3 separate regions of the Homo sapiens genome follow, and regions 1 and 3 are each linked to region 2. Evidence: promoter capture Hi-C in 16 types of primary human blood cells and fetal thymus (Javierre and others, 2016). All regions are on one chromosome and are shown on one strand. Each heading gives the region's core, a stretch centred on a gene start or on the middle of the fragment in contact. The rest is flanking DNA. Distances are from core to core; before and after follow the strand shown.

Region 1 (2,702 bases), core at 158-2,657, 590 kb after region 2:
TACTTAGGAGGCTGAGGAAGGAGAATCGCTTGAACCTGGGAGGTGGAGGTTGCAGTGAGCTGAGATCACACCACTGCACTCCAGTCTGTGCGACAGGAGCGAGACTCCATCTCAAAAAAAAAAAAATGTGGTACATATTCACCACAGAATACTACACAGCATAAAAAAGAACAAAATCGTGTCCTTTGCAGCAACATAAATGCAGCTGGAGGCCATTATCCTAAGCGAATTAATGCAAGAACAGAAAACCTAATACAGAATGCTCTCACTTCTAAGTGGGAGCTAAACAATGAATTCACATGGACACAAGGAAGGGGACAACAGACACCGGGGCCTACTTGAGGGAGGAGGGTGGAAGTAGAGTGAGGATCAAAAAACTACCTATCGGGTACTATGCTCACTACCTGGGTGACAAAATAATCTGTACACCAAACTCCAGTGACATACAATTTACTGATGTAACAAACCTGAACACGTACCCCCAGAACCTAAAATAAAAGTTGGAAAAAAAATTATTTATCAAGTTTTTCTTGCTAACTCTCTTGTACATATTAAGTCATATGTTTATTTTCTGTATCAATGTTGTTTTAATGTTTAATTTTAATGTCAGCATTAAAATTAATGTTATAACATTATAATGTGGGCTAAGCTTACATTAGCTCTAAAATAAATGATTTCATGCATGAAAAATAAAAAATAAAGGTGTTCATAATAAATAAAATGACGATAATTCTATGATAACTGTTGTAGAAGCAAAAAGAAGAATACAGTTTTTTAATGGCCCTAATATGTTTAAAGATACTTGATTAAAGAAGATATACAGATAGCAAGTAAGCACATGAAAAGATGTTCAACATATTTAATTATCAGGGAAATGCAAGTTGAAACCACTAATGGATACCACTACACCCAATAGAATGACTAAAATTTTAAAAACTAGTAGTACAAAGTTATGGCAAGAATGCAAACTAATTGAAGCCCTCACACATTACTGCTGGAGACGCAAAATGGTACAGTCACTCTGAAAAATAGTTTACCAGTTTGTAAAAAAATTAAACATACATTTTCCATATGTCACAACTAGGTATTTTATTAGCCATAATAAAAAGCCTAGAAACAATTAAATGTCCATCAATAGGTGAATGGACAGTTACATATTAATGCAATGAAAAGTACTCAGCATTTAAAAAGAACAAATTATCTATAAAACAACAAAAGTGAATCTCAATACCATGACTGTGGGAGTAGGGAAGCTATACATAAAAGTCTACACACTGTATGAGTCCCTTCTATGAAAAGTTAAAAAAAAAAACAACAGCCACAACTATAATAATAGGAAGCAAATCAGTGTTGCAAGAGAGAGGGAAAGGAGGAAGGTATGGAGCACAAAGTGGCACGAGAAACTTTTGGTGTGACAGAAATGTTAGTGTATCATTTTTATGATGGTAGTTACACAAATGCATACAATTGGAACAACTGGAGGTGGGAGAGAATCTTGTATAAGCCTGAACTTCAATCTCTAAAATTGACACAAAGCAAAAATTATTTATGTTCCCTACAAATTAATCCAGTCCTCTGCTGATAAGGAATGAGTTAATAATGAATGAAATCTAACATTTTGCCTGACCAACTAGGAGGGGAAAAAAGCAGCCTGTCGCCTTCAATTAGGAGCTCATGATGGCTACAACACACTAGATACTGGAACTCCGATCACTTCACTGGCATCATCCATACAATGTCACAACTGAGAATCTTCATGCAACAAGCCTTCATTAGAAACAGACAAAACAAATGTTACGAAAGCTCAGTTTATAGATAACTGAACAAAATTTGTCAGAACCATAAACTATTTATATATGAGAAAAACCTCTCATTCAACAACTAATAGGAAAAGATAATTCTTTAAAATAAGGGTCTTCACAAATTCACACATTCACAAAGGAGTCAGCACGTTTCCTGCCAATAACACAGTTGGGTGCACGCCCGACATATTCTTTTGTTCTCTGTTTTCTCTTTTGAAAAGCCTTGACCATTTCCATGGAACATAGCAAGACAATCTTAATTTTCCTCATGGGCAGGCTGATGAGAGTGCTTTCCATAAAATAATCAGTATGCATGCCCCATAAGGTGTTATACTAAAATAGACAGACATGAAACAAGCTTTTATTTTCTATCATACAAGCCAAAAATGGTGTAGAAAACAGTGCCACAAGAAAGTTTTACACAGAATACAGTCTTCATGTGACTTCTACAGAGCTCTAATGGATTATTTTTAAAGGATTGTGTTTGACATTTAAACATGGGGCTATGACCTTAAAGGTAAACCTAATAGCATAAAGTGGGGGGAAGTTCCTAGAAGAAGTTTTTAGAGCCAAGTTTAGAATGTAACTGAATCTACTGTAAGCAAATATCAGAGGCTGTAGGAAAGGCAGGAAGGATGCAATTTTTATTAATAAATGCTTCTTTAAAAATCTGTAATTTGTGCCCAGGATCCCATATATACATATAAAAATGCATAGTAAAGGCATTTTACACTATTCATGATAAATGTAAATAGAAATGAATGCAAATTCTCTTTAACTGACCTTTTCTTTATGTAAGTAACTTGTTTTATAGTGAATTACTGAGCATGTGTGTTGAAATTTTATCAGAACAATCTGTTACCTACTGTACATTTGACCCATACCCATAAAGGAAGTTAT
Region 2 (2,731 bases), core at 24-2,523:
TCGCTAGTTACTCATCACATCATTACTTCTTGTTATTTTGTCATACTTTGTAATATTGTTGTAGCTCTTAATACTCTGATTATTTTTCATCACATTGGTACAATACTTCTTATTACTCAACCATTATTTATAATGTTCTTGTGACTATTAATACATTGGTCATAAATTGTCATATTACTCCAGCAATTCTTGTTAATATGTCTTTATTTATATTACTATTGCTCCTAAGATTTTAGTTAATATTTCTTTTAATAGTTCACTGTAGTATCAATAATACATTATATTATTATATCACTACCACTAATAGTATTTCCCTTAATAGTATTTTCATTGTTCATCTTTCTCCTACAGTTCGTTTGCTAGTTTCCTACAGTTTGGTAATTTGTTACACTATTACTATATGTTATATTAGTGCAATTGGTTTTAATAAACAGTCCTTACATTGTTCCTCTATTTAGAATTACTTTGTCTTTAATCCTTTTAAAAATTGTGATTACTATTTTCACTTGATTCTGAAAGTGACTATGATTGTATTATTTGGAAGTTCACGTGTTATATCAGTTATGCCGATTAGCCCTTTCTTTGGTAATTGTTCACATTCCAATAATCTTTAATCATCGATCATTATTTATATATAATGTTCCTTGCTTTAATTTTGACTAGTCTATTGCATCAAAGGCTCTGAGTCTAGTGTTCTGATCACTCACATATCTACACGGATTTTCGCTCCAGTACCGGGGCCCTCTTCCTTGGCCTTGCATATTCTGCAAACACCAATTTCCAGGCCACCGCTCCGCCTGTCACGGCCTTGTTCTTAGGGTGCTGGCGCTGTCGATATTTCTATGCTCTTGGATCTCTAGACCCAATTCATCGCGTTACTCAGAGAGGAGGGCTCGTGCCCCAACTACTGGGTGTCGGGCCGAGGCGGCGGCCCGACCCAAGGCACTTCGCGCCGCCTTCCTGCAACTTTGACCGCCCCTGAAGTTCTTCCCCGGGTCGCGTGACTCACCCCTTTCCAGCTCATCCTCCTGTCCGTCCCCGCAGCCTAACCCTGAGCCCCTGTGGCCCCAGCCCCGCACGCCCAGCTCGTCCCCACTCGGCTGGAACCCACACTCACCCTAATTGCGGTGCCGCATGCGGAGGCGCCAGCGGCCCGAGGTCCCCTGCAGGTTCGGGTCCGAGGAGCGCGGGACGGCCGGGGCTCCGACTCCGCGCCGCTGGGTCAGGGTCCAGCTGCCTGCCGTGCCCTCGGGGCTGGACACATCCCGGCTCTGGAGCGGGCCCTTGATCTCCAAGGCTGCACTTTGGGGCCTCAATTCCCTCCTCCTCCCTCCCTCCCTCTGGGGCCGCCCCCCCTCCGCGCTGACGTCGCCGCTGTCAATCAGTCTGCGCCCGCTGTCCCCCGGGGAGGGGGGCTCCAGGGTTCCCCGGCGTCGCGGTCCCCAAGATCCCGAGCCCCACGCGAGCCGCCGGCTCCTCCACCGCGCGGCCCAGTGCCCTCCTCTTGGCCCTCGGGCCCCGCGAGCCGGGTAGGGGCTGGGAGCCCCGCATGGTTTAGATTAGAGAGGCGGGAAGCAAGGGCGAGCAGCCCGGCTCTCAGCCGAGGCTCGACAACCAGGAGGGCTCGCCTGGCCCCGCCGTGCCCGAAGACTAGGACGCTCCACGACCGGGTCTGGCCACCCCCTGCCGGCGCCCGCTTCCAGGCAGCGGCTTCTACGGATCCCCGGCCGCAGAGCCCCGCTCCCCAAGCCCTGCTCCCAGCTGTGCGCGCTGTTCATTTGGGAGCCCCGGTCCCGAGGTCGCAGGCGCACACGCGCCTCACAGGCCCACGCTCCGCTTCCCTACCATGCCCACCACGCGGCCTTGCACTTCCAGGCCCTGGGCACGGCCCTTCTGCTCACCCGCCCTCCTTGTCCCGGCCCAGGGGGCCGCGGGCGCTGGACCCGGCCTGGCGCGCCTCGAAGTCGGCCGCGGAGGTCAGGGGTGAGGACTGGGAGGAAGCCCGGTGGCCGGGTGCGGGGCGGCGGCGGCAGGGAAGTGCTGGGCCGGCCTCTGAGTGGAGCCGAGTCCGGCTCGGGCCTTGACAGAGCCCAGGCCGGGCTGCAAGGTGCCAGGCTTGGCAGAGCCTCCTGGGGAAACTGCGGCCCAGGGCCAGGATTCCGCGGCAGCTCCTTGAGATCCTGGAGAGCTGAAGAGGAAGCCCAATGCCTGCCCTAGTCTAGGAAGTGGAGACTGGGGAGCGTCCTGCTCCCAGCCACCCGGTTCTTTCCGCCTCAGAAACGGAGTCCCGCTCAGCACCTAGACCTCCCTGCCCAGCCTCTGAGCTCTCTGTCTCCACTTACCTCTGTTTCTCTCTGTCTGTACCTCCCACAGGACGCTGCCTTTCCACTAGCAGACGGACCCATGCGGACCCCAGCCCGTGCCCCAGCCTCCCCGCCTGTCACATGCCCAGAATCCTGGGGCAGAAATAGGCCTGCCCACCCATCTGCAAAGACAGCAGAATCCTCATCAATAAGGATCCCCAGAGTGGTCCCTTAGTGCTTAGCATGGGCTGCATCCCTCCCTCCACCAGTGTCCTCAACCAGCCTCTGTCCCTTTCCAGATTCTGACCTCAAAATCAGCTTGAAGGGGAGAGGACAGGGAAATTCTTTTCCTGGATGGGTCTGTCCCTGTTCTAATGCTAGGAAATGGAAAGCCAGCATCAATGCCTTCTTTACCACCCTGCACTCAA
Region 3 (2,700 bases), core at 157-2,656, 740 kb after region 2:
ATACAAAAATTAGCCTGGCATGGTGGCTCACACCTGTAGTTCCAGCTACTCAGGAGGCTGAGACATGAAAATCACTTGAACCCAGGAGGCAGAGGTTGCAGTGAGCCGAGATCACCCCTCTGCACTCCAGCCTGGGCAACAGCGTGAGACTCAGTCTCAAAAACAAACAACAAACAAAAAAAGCAAATGCAAATGCAATTGTCCATCAGCATCTGTGCTGACTGGTTCCACAAACCACCCATGAATACCAAAGTCCATCATGCTCAAGTCCTTTACATAAAATGGCATAGTATTTGCATATAACCTTTACACATTCTCTCATATACTTTAAGTCATCTCTTAATTACCTATAATACCTAGTACAATGTAAATGCTATGTAAATAATTGTTATACTGCATTGTTTAGGAAATAATGACAAGAAAGAAAACTCTATACGTGTTCAGTACAGACACAACCATCCTTTTTTTAATTCCAAATATTTTCAATCCACAGTTGGTTGAATCTGCAGATGCGCAACACACGTATATAGAGGGCCAATCGTATTAATTACAGACTATAAAGATCCATGAGAGTCATTTTTTTCTAGGTTGGCCAACATAGGCTCCCCACTGTCTAGCATATATGCTCATGTAATGAATAATGGTTATAAGTTTCAGAAGGGTTCTGACAGAGTAATGGCTAACAAAGTAAAATGTAAAAGATAACTATGAGTATTTGAAGGTACATACTAATCTTTTACAAATGAAAACACTGGGGCTCAGAAAACGATATTCCAAATTCTGGCATTTTGGCATGCTGAGCATTTTGAGCTAAAGGAAATTAAAAGGCCTCAGAAGTCCTCAGAACCAAGGACTTTCTGGTGTTCTCCTGCTTCTCCCTCACAAGCACAAGGAGGGACTCTCTCAAGTTCCCTTTCCTGAAGCTCTTCTAGAAGGAACACAATTGCCTCCCTCTCCCCTTTCTGAAATTTCTTCAACCAGAGAAGATTAATCTCAAATTACAGGATGGAAAACCGAGAAATGACACCACACCTAGACAGACTTTGTCACAGGCTATCATCTCTGCTCAGGTCCCACTTCCCAAGTGAATCACTTAGAAACAATTTTCTGCTCTTTGGGCCCATTCAACTTTCCTGAGAATGATTTACTAACTCTCAAAACTGACGACATTCCTCCATCTCCTTCTCCCCTATGAAGAGAGCACTATGTAAGCTTCAGCCATTTGGCCCTTCTTTGAGTCTCATATTTTATGTGGCTCTCATGCATGTGTATGCTTTTTCTCCCATTAGTCTATTGTCAATTTATTTCAGAGGGAGAGGGGATAATTCCCTTCACCTCTACAAAAACTAAACCTTAACTACAAAACTACTCACATGTCATATCTTTAGCAATCACATTTGAAAAGTGATGAAGTATAGCTCTTAGATCATGGGCTTTGAATTTGAATTCAGACAGAACTAGGTTTAAATTCTAGTTCCACCTCTTAAAAGCAGTGTGACCTTACCACCTGTAAAACAAGGTAACTTCTACATTAGATGAGATAATATGTATATAAACCTCTTTGACCATAATGAGAGCTCAATGAAATATAAGAAGCTTATTTTCCCAGATTGTCTTTTTTTTTTTTCCTTCCCAAGACAAGATCTCACTCTGTCACCCAGGCTGGAGTGCAGTGGCATAATCATGGCTCACTGCAGCCTCAACTTCCCAGGCTCAGGCAATCCCCCTGCCTCATCCTCCCGAGTAGCTGGAACCACAGGCGCATGCCACTACGCCTGGTTAATTTTTAAAAATTTTTTGTAGAGACAAGGTCTCACTATGTGTTTTTGTTTTTGTTTTTGTTTTGAGACAGAGTCTCACTCTGTCACCCAGGCTGGAGTGCAGTGGCGCAATCTTGGCTCACTGTAACCACCGCCTCCCGGGTTCAAGCGATTCTCCTGCCTCAGCCTCCAGAGTAGCTGGGACTACAGACATGTGCCATCATGCCCGGCTAATTTTTTTTTTATTTTTAGTAGAGATGGGGTTTCACCATGTTGGTCAGGCTGGTCTCGAATTCCTGACCTCAAATGATCTGCCTGCCTTGGCCTCCCAAAGTACTGGGATTACAGGCATGAGCCACCGCACCCGGCTGGTCTCACTGTGCTGCCCAGGTTAGTCTCAAACTGCTGACCTCAAGTGATCCTCCTGCCTCAGCCTCCCAAAGTGCTGGGATTACAAGCGTCAGCCTCTACACCAGGCCCTAATTCATGAAATAGTGGTACTACAACAATATACACTTGGCCAAAGAAAATTCTATCAAAAAAAAAATTATTCAAGTCTCTCAAAATATAATCTAGGCATAAGGAGAAATAAAGACCTTAATTACTCAAAGATAAACAGAAATTAACTTTAAACTATTAAAATTAATATCCCCAATTATAACCAAAACAAGTGGGCAGTTAAAACAACCTGAATACCACCAAAGGAATGTGTTCAATCCAGTCAACACCCCTAATCACACAGGCTCAACCCTCTTGTTAAAGGTATAACTTCCTCTGTCTTCAGTACTGTCAACAAACAGCATAATGAAGCAAAATGTAGTCTCTATTAATAAGAAAAAGTTACATTTACAAAACCCTTTTGTTTTATCACAACCTAGAAATATTTCTCTCCGTAAGAAAAAAAAACACTGCCAAATTTTAAGTACTTTCTCCACGCCTT

What was found. Contacts are between HindIII fragments. The CHiCAGO score rates a contact against its expected background, and 5 or more counts as called.
Region 1: a fragment that was not itself captured here is called in contact with the fragment with the promoter of TBX4 in region 2 in 1 of 17 cell types (total CD8 T cells); the score reaches 5.1 in total CD8 T cells.
Region 3: a contact is called between a fragment that was not itself captured here and the fragment with the promoter of TBX4 in region 2, in 2 of 17 cell types (M0 macrophages and M1 macrophages). The highest score is 6.4, in M0 macrophages.

What each region holds. Positions count from the first base shown.
Region 1 is chr17:60,856,997-60,859,698 of GRCh38, reverse strand. The region is part of intron 7 of BCAS3 (BCAS3 microtubule associated cell migration factor); the gene reads right to left. Among named protein-coding and RNA genes, the nearest start is that of BCAS3, 180 kb to the right of the region's middle. The HindIII fragment of the contact is 1,511 bases long and covers 652-2,162 here.
Region 2 is chr17:61,450,964-61,453,694 of GRCh38, reverse strand. TBX4 (T-box transcription factor 4) reads right to left here and starts at 1,273. Exons shown (of 9, transcript NM_001321120.2): 1 at 1,118-1,273. It overlaps LOC124904042 (a long non-coding RNA gene), which reads left to right. Exons shown (of 2, transcript XR_007065872.1): 2 at 1-453. RefSeq lists an enhancer at 462-1,303. The HindIII fragment of the contact is 10,401 bases long and covers 1-2,731 here.
Region 3 is chr17:60,711,310-60,714,009 of GRCh38, reverse strand. All of the region lies in intron 5 of BCAS3 (BCAS3 microtubule associated cell migration factor), which reads right to left. Among named protein-coding and RNA genes, the nearest start is that of BCAS3, 35 kb to the right of the region's middle. The HindIII fragment of the contact is 384 bases long and covers 1,215-1,598 here.